3 separate regions of the Homo sapiens genome follow, and regions 1 and 2 are each linked to region 3. Evidence: promoter capture Hi-C in 16 types of primary human blood cells and fetal thymus (Javierre and others, 2016). All regions are on one chromosome and are shown on one strand. Each heading gives the region's core, a stretch centred on a gene start or on the middle of the fragment in contact. The rest is flanking DNA. Distances are from core to core; before and after follow the strand shown. Region 1 overlaps TRIM66 (tripartite motif containing 66). Region 2 overlaps TRIM66 (tripartite motif containing 66). Region 3 holds the start of C11orf16 (chromosome 11 open reading frame 16).

The links. Contacts are between HindIII fragments. The CHiCAGO score rates a contact against its expected background, and 5 or more counts as called.
Region 1: a contact is called between a fragment that was not itself captured here and the fragment with the promoter of C11orf16 in region 3, in 1 of 17 cell types (M1 macrophages). The highest score is 5.9, in M1 macrophages.
Region 2: a fragment that was not itself captured here is called in contact with the fragment with the promoter of C11orf16 in region 3 in 1 of 17 cell types (M1 macrophages); the score reaches 5.1 in M1 macrophages.

Annotation. Positions count from the first base shown.
Region 1 is chr11:8,628,989-8,631,688 of GRCh38, forward strand. The region is part of intron 15 of TRIM66 (tripartite motif containing 66); the gene reads right to left. Among named protein-coding and RNA genes, the nearest start is that of STK33, 36 kb to the left of the region's middle. The HindIII fragment of the contact is 2,756 bases long and covers 17-2,700 here.
Region 2 is chr11:8,646,249-8,648,948 of GRCh38, forward strand. It overlaps TRIM66 (tripartite motif containing 66), which reads right to left. Exons shown (of 25, transcript NM_001388022.1): 9 at 2,168-2,300; 10 at 1,722-1,838; 11 at 199-313. Among named protein-coding and RNA genes, the nearest start is that of TRIM66, 35 kb to the right of the region's middle. The HindIII fragment of the contact is 2,018 bases long and covers 343-2,360 here.
Region 3 is chr11:8,931,633-8,934,332 of GRCh38, forward strand. C11orf16 (chromosome 11 open reading frame 16) reads right to left here and starts at 1,315. Exons shown (of 7, transcript NM_020643.3): 1 at 1,269-1,315; 2 at 510-694. The coding sequence starts at 676. RefSeq lists an enhancer at 934-1,772. The HindIII fragment of the contact is 4,544 bases long and covers 1-2,700 here.

The sequences.
Region 1 (2,700 bases), core at 145-2,644, 300 kb before region 3:
GTTCAGTTTTTTAAAAAGCTTCCATTTCCTCCACAGTCTGAGTGCCAAGACAAGAAGGGTTGAAGAGAAGCAAGGTGGAAAGAATATTTAAACCAAATTGGGTAAGCTAGGAATGAAGCCCAGCTTAAGGGACCAAGGCCAAAAATCAATGGCTATCTCAAACATGCCCAGGCCTGCATTCCTTAATGTCTCCTTGTTGTCCTGGTTATGCACTACCATAGCTTTCTAATATTCTATATTTCCTTATCTATGAACAAGAACACCCAGTGACTATTTCATTCCGTTTTGCAATATATGACAGTCTAATCCTTTGCACTGGATTCTTTCTCCTTTCCCCTATTTGACATGTATGTTTAGTGTGGTTTTGGCGCTCATTTAATCTACCCATGCTGGACATTGAGAATTATATAGATGTCTCTTCTTAGTGAGATCCTTGTTGCCAAGCATTAAGAGCACTAAAATCCACGTGAGACCACCCAAATAATAATGGTCAGGTGCCATACGTCACAAGATATGCACAAGATAAAATCCCCAAGGACAAAACTTCCCAGATTAGGGGTAGAGATCATATTCGTGGGAAATTGGCTCTCCTGTCCTAATTACCTATTGCACATGTGAGTTAACATAATGATAGGGGAGAGGAAGACATGCAGACTGAGCTGTGGAAAAATTGCGGAAACTCCATGGCAGTTTATTTTGAGGTGAACCTGATGAACCTGGTCCCGTAATGCCCAGAAGACAATACGAGGTCAGCAATACATCCCAAGATATTGCATACTTGACTGATTTATTTCCTTTTCACAGCCACAGCCAATCTCAAGGAGGCCAATGCTATCAGGAGAGGGGGTGAAGCTCTGGTAGTATTAACAAGAATGTGGAAAATTTCCACGGAGGAAGGGACTCAGAGAAAGTGCTGTGAGAAAGCCAGCCCAACCCCATTTTTACAGGCTATGCAGACACAATGGCATTTCTGAAACCTATATATGCTATGTGTTAGTTATTTTTATACTATATCGGCTCTCTAGAGTGAAGGGTTGTAAAATATTAAAACAAAAGGTACTTATTTCATGTACAAAAAGAAAAAGAAGATTTGAGAACCTTCATCCTAGTCTGTTGCTAGTGCTACAAGATGGGTGGGGGCAAGGGTAGGGCCAACCTTCAGAGCAAGGAAAGCAGGCTGAGTCTCCAGGGCCTGGGAGGAGAGGAAGCACTTCTCAAGAGCATGATGGGATTGGAAAAGGGCTTGAGAGCGTGGCCAGGTTGTCTGACACTTGGTGCCACCCATGCAGAAGGGAGCTCACTTGTCAATGGAGATGATACCACCCACCCTCTAGACCCCAGGATTGTTCAGAGGTCAAATGACAGGAGGTGAATGTGTATTTCTAGCTATAAAGTACGTAGAGGGTTATCACTGAGGTTTCTAGGCTGTCAACTGTGTAACTGACACCTTGACTTCATCTTTACATACAAAACCTCTAGATTTCATGAAGGAAAAGGTATATTTTGAGATTCACTACTGAAAATAAACTATTTTCTAGTTCAGAGAGGAAGAGTCAAAATGCCAAAACACATTCACTCTGATAATCAGCTCAGGTCATCTTTGGGAGATGGAGAGAGACAACCCTGAGCCTACAGAGCCCCCTCTTACCTCCCTTAACTAGCATCTCCTCTCGATCCTCGTTTCCCTTCCCCCAAACTGTGTGTCCCCGTCCCTGTCCCTTTCCTCTTGCCTCTTTTTTGTCTCCTTATCTTTGTCTGCCACCTGTCTGACTTATCTGAAATTACCTCACCTATTAATTTAATGGATTCAGTTAACCTATTTAACCTACCTGTCTTTACCATCTAACTTGACAACTTGCCTGACCTACGACTTCCCTGAATTGTCTGACTTTCAACCTCTGCTACTAGTCACCTATGTGACCCTGCACCCATCTAACCTGAATTCTGCTTGACCTGTGCTCTGTCACCTGCTGCCCTCTCTCTCTCCTCACTCTTACCACCCAGATGTGTTTCTAGAGTTCAGTGTGTTGACATTATTATTCTAATGATTGCCACATGGTATTGTCAAAATTCAGATAAAACATTGCTCTTTCATTTTAACAGGAAGGGAAATTGAGACACAGAGTGATTACCTAGATTTCCCAAGCTCATACAGGTCCAAGACTAGGAATCTGGGACCAGCCTTGAAAACAGGCTGGCTAGTCTTGATTCTGTGCCAGAAGCTAGAAAGCTAGTGCCCTAGTAAGAAATGATTGAGAAATCAATAAACAGACACTTAGTGCACATGCCCTGAGTTTAATATAAATTTCAGGTTCTTACAGCAAGATAATATTGCTGGGGATAAAGTAATGCAGATAGGGTGGTGTTCCACATAAATTAACTTTCCAGTTATCTGAAACATACCTCTTTCAATAACAAAATGCAATTGGCTTAAAAACATTATTTCAAATGGGAGTACTTCTAAAACACTTTACACACTCTTCTGTCTTATTAAGCAGAGCATAAGGAGGCTAAGGAGACCATTTCTTAGTGATATCAAGGAATTTGGATGAACCAATAAGTAATTCAGTGATGCTTTCGGGAACTTCTAAGAATGCAGGGCTTAGCTTGTTCTTTCAGTGAATGACCTCATACCGTGGCACTTTTCCAAGTGATGTTTCTTGTCTTCTCCCTTGTTAGCTGCCCTTATAGAAATCTTGA
Region 2 (2,700 bases), core at 102-2,601, 290 kb before region 3:
ATCAGTTTGAACTGATTTTCTAGCCCTTAATGAGCCACCCTCCCAAAATTAGGCTGACATTTTAAAATACAGGGAGCAGCACAGAGCTATGGAAGCTGCATATCTGAATTACAGCCTAGGCTTCCCTAGGTCCTGGGACTAGCTTGATATATGGATGGTTTCTGAACCCAACCATCTGATCCATCTGTCTATACATACCTCTAATTCCTCTATTAGCCCATTGGCCTGTTTGTTCAGCTCATTCATCAGAACCATCTTGGCCATTTTGATCTGGTTTTCCACCTTCCTATGCTGATGCTTCACTTCAAAAATCCTGTAAACACAATGGGACAAACCATGGTAAGCTTTCCTCATGGACTATATGAAGACGAAGAGACAGCAAACATAAGAACCAACTTGGAGGCTGCCTACTGAGATCAGGGCCTAGCAGACACCAAATACAAAAAAAAGAGAGCCTTCCTCCACCATCCCACCTTTTGTACAAAGCCCCACTTGATCAAAGTTCAGCTTGGTTTTCTCTAGGTAAACCTCAAGTCTACACCAAGGTCAACCCAGTAGCCCACCAGTTGACACAGCACTAGAGGTAGGACCAAAAGAGAAAGTATGGGAATAATTTACTGTAATTTGTTGTGTTTAAAAGGAGGATGCTCCAATAAATGTCGCCATGAGGTAAAAAGAGGCAGAATGCATACTGCCTCAGTAGTTTCTGAGGGCCGGGGGGTGTTGGGGGAATGGAGAGTGACTAATAATGTTTATATTATTGGCATAATAACATATTATATAATAAACATATTATATAATAAACAATAATAAACATATAATTATATAATAAACAATAAACATATAATATAATGTTTATTATAAACATATAATAATGTTTATATTAATGTGGCTTCTTTTTGGGGGGATGAAAATGTTTTAAACGTAGACAGTAATTATGTACAGTTGCACAATTCTGTGAATATACTAAAGGCCACTGAATTATACATTTAAAAAGAATAATTTTATGATACGTAGATTATATCTCAGTAAAGCTATTTTTAAAAATTTAAAAAGCATGGGCATTGAAGTCACCACAGACCTACCATCTAAACCCAGCACAGTCACTGGCTAGTTGTGTGATCTCAGATGAGTTACCAAACCTCTATGAACCTCAGTCTCCTCATCAGTAAAATGGAGAAAATCGCTAACTGAAAGAATGGCAAGAACTGAACAAAATAATGCATATATGATACCCAACCCAGTGCCTGACACATGAGGTGCTCTCAGCACCTACCACTTCCTCTTCCTATGTAAAATACCAATGATTTCATGTGACTTGTAGATTTACAGAGAACACACAGGGAAAGGGGTGATAAAGCACAGATTGCCCCTGGTTTGTTCCACCCTCATAATAAGCAGCACTCTCTTCCCTAGTGTCTGCTTGGTACCCTTGTTCTCAAGCACCGACTTCTGGCTAGTTCATAAGGCATATTCTTTGACCCAGACTCACTCTGATCATCCTGACCTAGCTTGGTCTCAGCCACCAAGGGATGACTTAATGACCCCTCCCTGGCCCTGAGACCTCAAAGGCCAAGACATATGCCTTCTAGGACATATGCCCACATCTGCTTAACCACAGTTCCTCTTCACAGGCACTACATCTGACGGCCTGGTGTTGGAACCCTGGGTGTGCGGGAACAGAGCATTTCCAGCACTGGCAAGGCACTAGCCTGTGCTACCTGTCCTCAATTTGCTTTGCAGATGTCTGTAGACTGGATTTCTTATGTGCCACCTGTGTAGTCACACCTTCCAGAAGCATCCTCTGGTTTTGCAAAACTTCTTCAACATGTCTGCACCTAGGGGATGAGGCAGAGAAAAAGCTGAGAAGGGCTGAGTCCTACTTTGAGCATGCCAACCAAGCGGGAATCTCCACAGGGAACTGTCTCAGCCAGACCCATGGAAGCTGTGATGACTTCTAGGGAAAGTCTAAGGCACCACAGGCTCTTGGCCCATTAGGCCTTTTCCAGGGAAGTCCTACAACAGGAGCAGAGAAAAACTTCAGCCCAGGGGCTGCAGGTTGGCTTGGGCAGGGAGAAGATTCTGATGCACGGGGATTCCCAGAGCTCTCACAAGTAAGAAATCCAGAGCCCTCCCCAGCCCATTTCAGGCAGTCTGTCAGCCCCACCTGTGTTCTTTGTGTTCCACCACTAGGCAGCTATGGCAAGTGAGCATATCACATGTCTCACAGAATAGCTTGAGTACTTCCTGTGTGTGTAGAGGACAATACAAGGTGAAGTCTCCGGGACCACCATTCACTCCTGCCAGAGAAGACAGAGAAAGTGAGCTTCTCTTGCTCAGGTAGACAAACCTCTCAGTTAAGCTTTGCTGCACAGCTCTCAGCCTTCAGAGGACACTGCAGAAATACAGAGCTCGGGGGAAGTGTTATAAACAGGAGATGACTCTCCAGGGGCACAAGGAGGATTTTGGGCTGAGCTTGGCTGGATTTGCCCAGTTGTCCAGAAATAGCACACCATCAAGCCCAAGCATCCCACTACCTGCCAGAGGCTGAGGAAGGCGCTTGCTACTACTCCACATAGATCTCCTGCAAAATAATGAATCCTTCACAATTAACCTTAACCTGTTCATTAATCAGGATTCTGTTTTTAATGGAGCTGAAACCAGCTATCCAGCCTTGCCAGGCTCCAGGCTAGATCACGT
Region 3 (2,700 bases), core at 65-2,564:
ACCTGCCTTGGCCTCCCAAAGTGCTGGGATTACAGGCATGAGCCACCATGCCCAGCCAATTTTTTGTGTGTTTTTAGTAGATGGGGTTTTGCCATGTTGGTCAGACTGGACTCGAACTCCTGACCTCAAGTGATCTGCTTGCCTCGGCCTTCCAAAGTGCTGGGATTGTATACAGGTGTGAGCCACTGCGCCCAGCCAAGTCTCAGCATTGATGGTAAAATGAGCTATAAACTTGGTAACTGGCTATCCCTAACTGCCTTCTCTTACTCATGCCAACTGCAGCATCTGCAACTCTGCTAAAGCCAGATCAACCCTGGAGGGCTCTGGGAGCACAATGTAGGCTGGAGTGACAGACCCCACACAGATATGCCAATCATAGGCCAAACAATGACGACCCCTTTCCACCTTCTCAGGAAGCAAGTCTGTCCACCAAGGTCTACCACCAACAGCCAAGAACAAAGGAAAAAGAAAAGGGCATCCACTTCCCCCAGAGGGGCAGAGACAGGTACCTTGCAAGGGGCTTGTGCCCGGTGAGCCAGGGTGCTTGGAGGGCAAAGGGGTAGGTGAAGGAGAGGTCCCAAGGTGGAGCAGCACCGTCCCAGCCAGGGGCCTTCAGGCTTGTGGCCACGCTGCAGTATTTGAGCAAAGGCATCCTGGGCCCCGTGGAGGATTCCATGGCCTTCAGAGGATCCACCTGAGAATAGGCACCACCATTACCTGAGCTGCAGCTTGAAGCAAGCAGTGGCCACCGGGGCGAGGCAGGGCTCAGCTCTGCAGTTAGCTGCCTCTGGGGACAGTTGAGTCCATGCACGGCCCTACCTGCTCCCACAAACTCTCACAGTTTCCTCTTTGAGTCACCTGCCTTGGGAACCTCCACTCAGGAAACAGGGAAGGGATTGGAAGAGCAAGTGCTGTGAGTTTAGAGCAGCCCAGCTTTAAATCCTCCCCTACAGCCTGCTGGCTGTGTGCTCACTTAACCTCTGCTCTCCAGTTACACTCAGGATAGAATACATGGAAAGCACCTGGCGTATTCAGCAGCTCAACTTATGTTAGTATTTTTCCTCCTTCCTCCTCCCCGGCCACCTACAAGGCTAGTTCTGGCCTCAGGCAAGCTGAGATCTCAGGGCCGTCCATCCCCTTTCCAGCCCTGTTCAGAGGAGACAGCTGCCACCAGGGCCCAAGATCAAGCCGCACTGCTGCAGCCCACCAGAGCCCCGTGAGGGTCTGCCCCTGCCCAAGTCCACAGGTCTGACCCCACAAGGACTTACCCACAGCCCCAAACTCCCAGCCTCCACCTCAGCCTCAGGCTCCTTCTGACAGTTGGGGCTCAGGGTCTCAGCCCAACCGACTCCTGGTTGCCACGCCGGTTACCATGGGTGCAGCCTGGGGACGCTGTCGTCTGTGGCCAGTGAGTGCACCGAGCATGCGGAGAGGGGGACAGGAGGCCTTGGGAGGTAGGGGTGGGGCAGGAAGTGATGGGGGAGGGGGTGTTCTCCAGGTTTCCCTTTGGAGAGAAGAGGAGGAGGAAGAAGGGAAAAAGGCCAGTGTAGCCTCAGTTCTCCAAAGCTCAGGCTGCTCCACTGCTGGAAGAGTCAGTGGTGGTGGGAAGCCCTCACGGATCCCAGGAGACTCCTGTGAGGGAGGAGCCACCTCCGCAGAAACTGAGGGCGTCCTCCCTGTACACACTAGAGGCAGGAATGGGGGAGCCACTGGCGGCCTGGGGACTCTAGGATAGAATTTGTCCCTAGTCTAAACCAAAATAACCAAAGGTGTGGGCCTGTTTGTCTATAACAGGCAGGACTCTGTTGAGGAGCAGAGGTGTTGTGACCATTTGGAGTGAGAGGTGTGGACACTGGCAACAAAGGAACAGAAGTCCAGATTCTGCTTGTGGGAGGGGCTCGTATTTGGAGGCCTCTGCCAGTCACTGTGCACTGGTTATATGCCTGGTATGCAGGCACGTTTGGATGTGTCTCCCCCACATTCATACCCCGCTTCTACCAGGTCCTGTTTCAGTTGGCAGATCCATGTGGATAGGGAGGCCAAAGTACCCACCTCCAGGGGTAGAGTGGGTGTCAGTCACCCCTTCCATCCCCGTCTGGCCCCAGGGGTTGGTCAGGCAGTGGCGTGTTCCTGAACCTCTCCAATCAGCAGGAATCTGGAGACTTTGGTTGGGAATCCTGGGATATAGGCTTTCTCTTTCTTCCTATGCCTGAATAAGAAAGCTGATAGTTCTGAGAGCCTCTGACAGCCTTTTGGGAACACTGAAGCTATTCCCAGAGAAAGAGAGGATAGACCTCAGGAAATAGAGGGTTGGTTGGTTTGTTTGTTTTGAGACAGGGTTGCCCAGGCTGGCCTCAAACTCCTGGGCTCAAGGGATGCTTTTGCCTCAGTCTTCCAAGGAGCTCGGACTACAGCCATGCACCCCAACGCCCAGCTGAAAATAGGTTCTCGGTGACAGTACTGAGTCCTGCCTGCAGGCAGTGCTGCTACTCTAGGCCTCAGCTCTGTGAGCCAATAATTCCCCTTATTGATTATGCCACTCTGGATTGGGCTGTTTCTTACTTGCAACCAAAAGCCTCTTAACTGATGACTGCCCTCCCGAAGCATCACTTCATAGTCAGGAGAATGACTGCTGCCCAGGACCGTATACCAAGGCGGAGTTATTTGGCACACAGAGAGTCTAAGAAAGACCCATGGCCG